2 separate regions of the Homo sapiens genome follow, and region 2 is linked to region 1. Evidence: promoter capture Hi-C in human tissues and cell types (Jung and others, 2019). All regions are on one chromosome and are shown on one strand. The core of a region is centred on a gene start or on the middle of the fragment in contact, and the rest is flanking DNA. Distances in the headings are between cores, read along the strand shown. Region 1 holds the start of UMPS (uridine monophosphate synthetase). Region 2 overlaps SLC12A8 (solute carrier family 12 member 8).

The links. The method cuts DNA at HindIII sites, captures the fragments that hold promoters and counts their contacts. A contact is called where the count stands out against the background at its distance.
Region 2: a fragment that was not itself captured here is called in contact with the fragment with the promoter of UMPS in region 1 in 1 of the 25 tissues and cell types used here (dorsolateral prefrontal cortex).

The regions. Positions count from the first base shown.
Region 1 is chr3:124,729,107-124,731,960 of GRCh38, forward strand. UMPS (uridine monophosphate synthetase) reads left to right here and starts at 1,346. Exons shown (of 6, transcript NM_000373.4): 1 at 1,346-1,521. The coding sequence starts at 1,366. RefSeq lists enhancers at 1,004-1,603, 1,016-1,425. The HindIII fragment of the contact is 9,650 bases long and covers 1-2,854 here.
Region 2 is chr3:125,176,759-125,179,612 of GRCh38, forward strand. It overlaps SLC12A8 (solute carrier family 12 member 8), which reads right to left. Exons shown (of 14, transcript NM_024628.6): 5 at 985-1,216. Among named protein-coding and RNA genes, the nearest start is that of MIR5092, 27 kb to the left of the region's middle. The HindIII fragment of the contact is 7,457 bases long and covers 1-2,854 here.

The sequences.
Region 1 (2,854 bases), core at 96-2,595:
ACTATACAGCTATGCCTTATCTGTTCCTCTTTTTTAAAAAAGTATTTGTTATAGTTGACACATGATATCGTACACATTTATTGGGTACATAGTGCTATTTCAATACACACAATGTACAGTGATCAAATCAGAGTAATTCATATATTCCTCACCTTAAATATTTATCCTTTCTTTGTGTTGGGAACATTCAAACGCCCCTCTTCTAGCTATTTTAAAATATATAGTAAATTATTATTGACTACAGTCACCCTACAGTGCAATGGAACACTAGGACTTATTCCTCCTATCTAGCTGTAATTTGTGTCCTTTAACCACCCCCTACCCTTCCCAGCCTCTAGTGATTACTATTTTATTCTCTAGCTCCATGAGATCAACTTTTTTAGCTTCTGCATATGAGCGAGAACATTTGGTATTTATCTTCCTGTTCCTGGCTTGTTTCACTAACATAATGTCCTTCAGGTTCATCCACCTTGCTGCAAATGACAAGGTTTCATTCTTTATGTGAATTTAAGGGTTATTTTCCTTAAGCTAGAATAAAGTATTGCCTTATATACACAATGGAGAAGGGATTTATTTGTACAGATTATTTATTGATTATTTCTTTAAGGGATTTATTTGTAAAGACCAAATATGTTTGGATTTTCAGATTGTCTAGCAATATTATCCTCCTGGATAACCCTGATACCAATCAATTAACCGTCTTCTAACTCTCCTCCTTCCCTCCCTTACCTTTTCTACACCTATTACCTAAGCATTTGAGGTACGCCAAAGGAAATAAAAAAGTACTCCTCCAGGAAGCAGAGTACAGACAAAAGAGGTAATGAATACTGTAATGATCTAAGTGCTATATATTCCTATGTGCAAACTGCTATGGAACTGTCACGTACTAGATGCTATGAAGTTAATAAAAGAATTGAGTAAAGGTCCCTGTCTTTGATAACTTATATTCTATTTGGAGAAACATGGGGGGTAAATCTTGGCTAATAACTAGCAAATATAACATGTTAGGCCAAGGAGTAGAGATAATTAAGAGAACTAGTCGAGAAGGCATTGGCTATTAAAAAATGGACAGGATTTATGCAAACTCTCATGAAAGGTGGGACTTCATGATCCTACAGTCAATCTAGCTGTTCTGGGCTTTGAACCCCAGCGACCCCATCCAGAAGAAACCAGGAGAAGCACAAACTGGCGCTAGGTTCGCTACCATCCACCTGACCCTTGAGCCCGGGGAAACCCACGGGTGCAGCAAGCCGGGAAAGCTGCAGACGAGGCAGGCGGAAGAGGCGGGACTTCGCGGGTGACGTCATCGGGGCGCCGGAGGCCCGGGGCGCCTGGGAATTTGAAGCAAACAGGCAGCGCGCGACAATGGCGGTCGCTCGTGCAGCTTTGGGGCCATTGGTGACGGGTCTGTACGACGTGCAGGCTTTCAAGTTTGGGGACTTCGTGCTGAAGAGCGGGCTTTCCTCCCCCATCTACATCGATCTGCGGGGCATCGTGTCTCGACCGCGTCTTCTGAGTCAGGTGCTGGCCTAGGAAGGGAAAGGACAGGGCTTGGTGGCGGGAAGGAGGACAAGGAAATGGAAGAGGGTGACAGGAGTTGGGCCGTGAGTGAGAGCAAAAGAGCCAAGCAGGCAGACCGACCCTACTCTTGGTTTGGGGAGTAAGCATGAGAAGCACAGAGGCCAGGGGTTGGGCTCCTCGAGAGTCGTCTGTTCTTTCACCCACACGCTTAGACACGTGTTTTGCAAAAGTCGGGAAACCCAGTTTGGAACGCTTTCTGGCACTGAAGCACACTTGAATGAATTCTGTATATTTAACTCTTTAAGAAAATTAGACTTGCGGCCGGGCGTGGTGCCTCATGAGAGTAATACCAGCACTTTGGGATGCCTAAGTGGGCAGATCACCTGAGCCCCAGGAGTTCGAGACCAGCCTGGGCAACATGACGAGACCCCGTCTCTACAAAAAATTAGCTGGGTGTGGTGGCGCACGCCTGGGACGCTGAGGTGGGAGGATCACCTGAGCCTGGGAGGTCAAGGCTGCAATGAGCTGTCATTGCGCCACTGCACTCCAGCCTGGGCGACAAGTGAGACCCTGCCCTCAAAAAACAAACAAATAGACCGGGAAAACGTGGGTAGGCAGAGAATTCAGTAGCTGGGAAATTACTGGTGAGAAAAGGAAAATAGAACAACCAGAACTCTGTGATGTATACAAAATTTATCAGAGCCCAGAGAGACTTCAACCATACTCCCCTATGCAGCCCCGGGACAATTATTTAAAGGAATTTTGTCCCTGACTAGCTGCCTCTCCCATTATCTTAATGTACCTGGAATGTGTGATACAAAGAACAATGTATAGCTAATCAATCGCTTGTGTTATTATTTTATTTATTTATTTTTTAGATGGGATCTCTCTTACGTCACCCAGGCTGGAGTGCAGCTCTGTGATCATAGCTCACTGCAGCCTGGAACTCCTGGGCTTAAGAGATCTTCTTGCCTCGGGTGAGCACAGGGGCTCATGCCTGTAGTCCCAACTTTGGGAGGCTTTCTTTGGGAGGCTGAGGCGGGTGGATCACTTAAGGTCTGGAGTTCGAGACCAGCCTGGCCAACATGGTGAAACCCTGTCTCTACTGAAAATGCAAAAATTAGCTGGGCATGGTGGTGCACACCTGTAATCCCAGCTACTCAGGAGGCTGAGGCAGAAGAATCAGGAGGTTGCAGTTAGCCGAAATTGAGCCACTGCACTCCAGCCTGGGCAACAGAGGGAGACTGTCTCAGAAAAAAAAAAAAAAAAGAGATCCTCTTACCTCAACCTCTGAGTAGCTGGAACTACAGGCATGTGCCATCATGCCCACCAA
Region 2 (2,854 bases), core at 248-2,747, 450 kb after region 1:
TCAAAACCACAATGAGATACCATCTCACACCAGTTAGAATGGCAATCATTAAAAAGTCAGGAAACAACAGGTGCTAGAGAGGATGTGCAGAAATAGGAACACTTTTACACTGTTGGTGGGACTGTAAACTAGTTCAACCATTGTGGAAGTCGGTGTGGCGATTCCTCACGGATCTAGAACTAGAAATACCATTTGACCCAGCCATCCCATTACTGGGTATATACCCAAAGGATTATAAATCATGCTGCTATAAAGACACATGCACACGTATGTTTATTGCGGCACTGTTCACAATAGCAAAGACTTGGAACCAACCCAAATGTCCAACAATGATAGACTGGATTAAGAAAATGTGGCACATATACACCATGAAATACTATGCAGCCATAAAAAAGGATGAGTTCATGTCCTTTGTAGGGACATGGATGAAGCTGGAAACCATCATTCTCAGCAAACTATCGCAAGGACAAAAAACCAAACACCGCATGTTCTCACTCATAGGTGGGAATTGAACAATGAGAACAAATGGACACAGGAAGGGGAACATCACACACCAGGGACTGTTGTGGGGTGGGGGGAGGGGGGAGGATTGCATTAGGAGATATACCTAATGTAAATGACGAGTTAATGGGAGCAGCACACCAACATGGCACATGTACACATATGTAACAAACCTGCATGTTGTGCACATGTTATCCTAAAACTTAAAGTATAATAATAATAAATAAATAAATATACATTAAAAAAAGAAAATAAAAGGACACATAGAAAATGTGCTAGGCGATGTCTGTGTGAAGAGGAGCTTCTAGCCTCATGAAGCTGCTCCAAGACACACCTGCTCACCTGATCCAGGAACAGCTCACACCAATTGTAGGTAAAGCCTATGGGGGTTAGGGGGAGATGGGGTGGGCAAACTCACACCTACAAACATCTCTAAAGCAGTGAAGATCCATAAGGCCACATACTGGACTCTGAAAGGCTTACCTGGGTCCAGGTGGGTGAAAGAACCCACCACAAAGTCCAGTGTGGACACGGCCAGCAGGAACAGCAACAGCAGCTGGAGGCGGATTATCCATTTGACACCTGCGAGGTTAATGCCCAGCAAGGCCAGAAGCACCGCAACTGAAATTCCTCGCACAGCCCAGATATTCCCGAGGCCCAGCAAATCCGAGATGGATTCAGCAAAGCCGGTGATATACATGGCACCTGCAACACACTGACATGCGATTCCAGGTAGAAGAGTCAGCAGGACAGAAAGCCATGGGCCCATGGGCAGAACCGCCCAGCGCTGAGAACCCTGCACCCCCATCGGACACACTCACTGGCACCAAGGCACAGTGCCTGGGACCAGTGCAGGGTTAAACCAGCCCTTCCCACCCGTGAACCTGCCTCAGGCCCCATTTCTACTTGTCTACATCTCAACTAAAGAATGAAGGAGGAACCCAAGCTGAGAGCTGGCTGTCAGTGATAACAAAGATGAAAAGACTATGGGAGGAAGAAGATGGGACACTGGGCTAAAGAGGCCTCCGGATTTCTCAGTCCGAGTTATTCAAGAACTAAATATAGAACAAGAACACACAGGGGGTCCCATCTACAGAGCCTTAAAAGGACACTGCAGTAAACCAGATTTTTCTTCATTTCTCTATAGGTCAGTATTATTTTTAAAATTATCTAAAACTTAGCAAAAAAAAAAGTGAGTGGCACGTCTTTTTCAACGTCATATGTGGCAAAGGCTACCCAAGGACTATCTAGGTGAATGTACTTCATTTTACTCACTATTTGCTGTTGATTAAATGCATTATATGCCCCAGATTTAATAAAGTTACATGTTACCTTATGGATTTTTTTCCAGTACAGATGCAAATAACTTCTGTCCAGTGGAACATATAACCCAAAAGATTAGGATTTGTTGTCCTGTAAGACATTAACTGATTTTCTATCTAACCCAGCAATCTTATCCTAACATTTATTTATTCAACTGCCTAGTTATGAATTTACTAATCTGACCTCTGTCCACCCAGCATCCTTTGCAGATGCTCTTTAACATCTTACTGGCTCCTCCATTAATTCATAAATTAAATAAAATCCCTGCTCCAGGTTAGGCTTCCTATGAGTATTTGTTATATAATCTTTTTTTAAAAAAATGAAATGAAATCCTTGGCACATGTTTTTCTTATATTTGCCTGAGAATCATGATTTTATCTTTTGGGAAATATTTGAAAGATCATTTCAAATTAAATTGTTGAAAATAACATCAGTCTCACTTTTCCTAATTCCTCAGCCTCAGCCTTCTTCTCTCCTCAGGTTTGTCCTTCACTGCCCCCAGGGCCAGCTGGTCACTCTAATCACTGTAGCCCTGCCCTTGCCATTCTCTGGGAACAAATTCTATTAGGGCCTCATTCGTTCAAGTCCCTCCTTTTCCATGAGGCCTCTCCTCAACCTCTTTTTCTGAATAAATAGTAAGCTAACTGCTAAGGCCATACAATTAATTATCTGGTTCCATATTCTATTATCATGTCATGAACGTAAGTTTGTCTCCCCACCCCACCACCAAGAATGCAAATATCTTAAAAAATTGTTTATGCTGATTGTACCTCTTCAAATACTTGCATTTGCTAAGTATGTTGCAAGCATTCAATAAATACTTTGTGATATGCTGATCATATAAAAGGTGCTCTGGGAAGCAGGCTCCATGAGTTCCAGCCATTTTGTGTAAAGGCAAAAGGGTAATACAACTTCTGGATTTGAAAGGAGCTTGTGAACAAGGCCCCATTCTTCAATGAGATCAGCTCACTTTGCAACTAGGCACATATCATGTTTGTCAGCATCCCCCAAATTTACACTTAGCTTAACA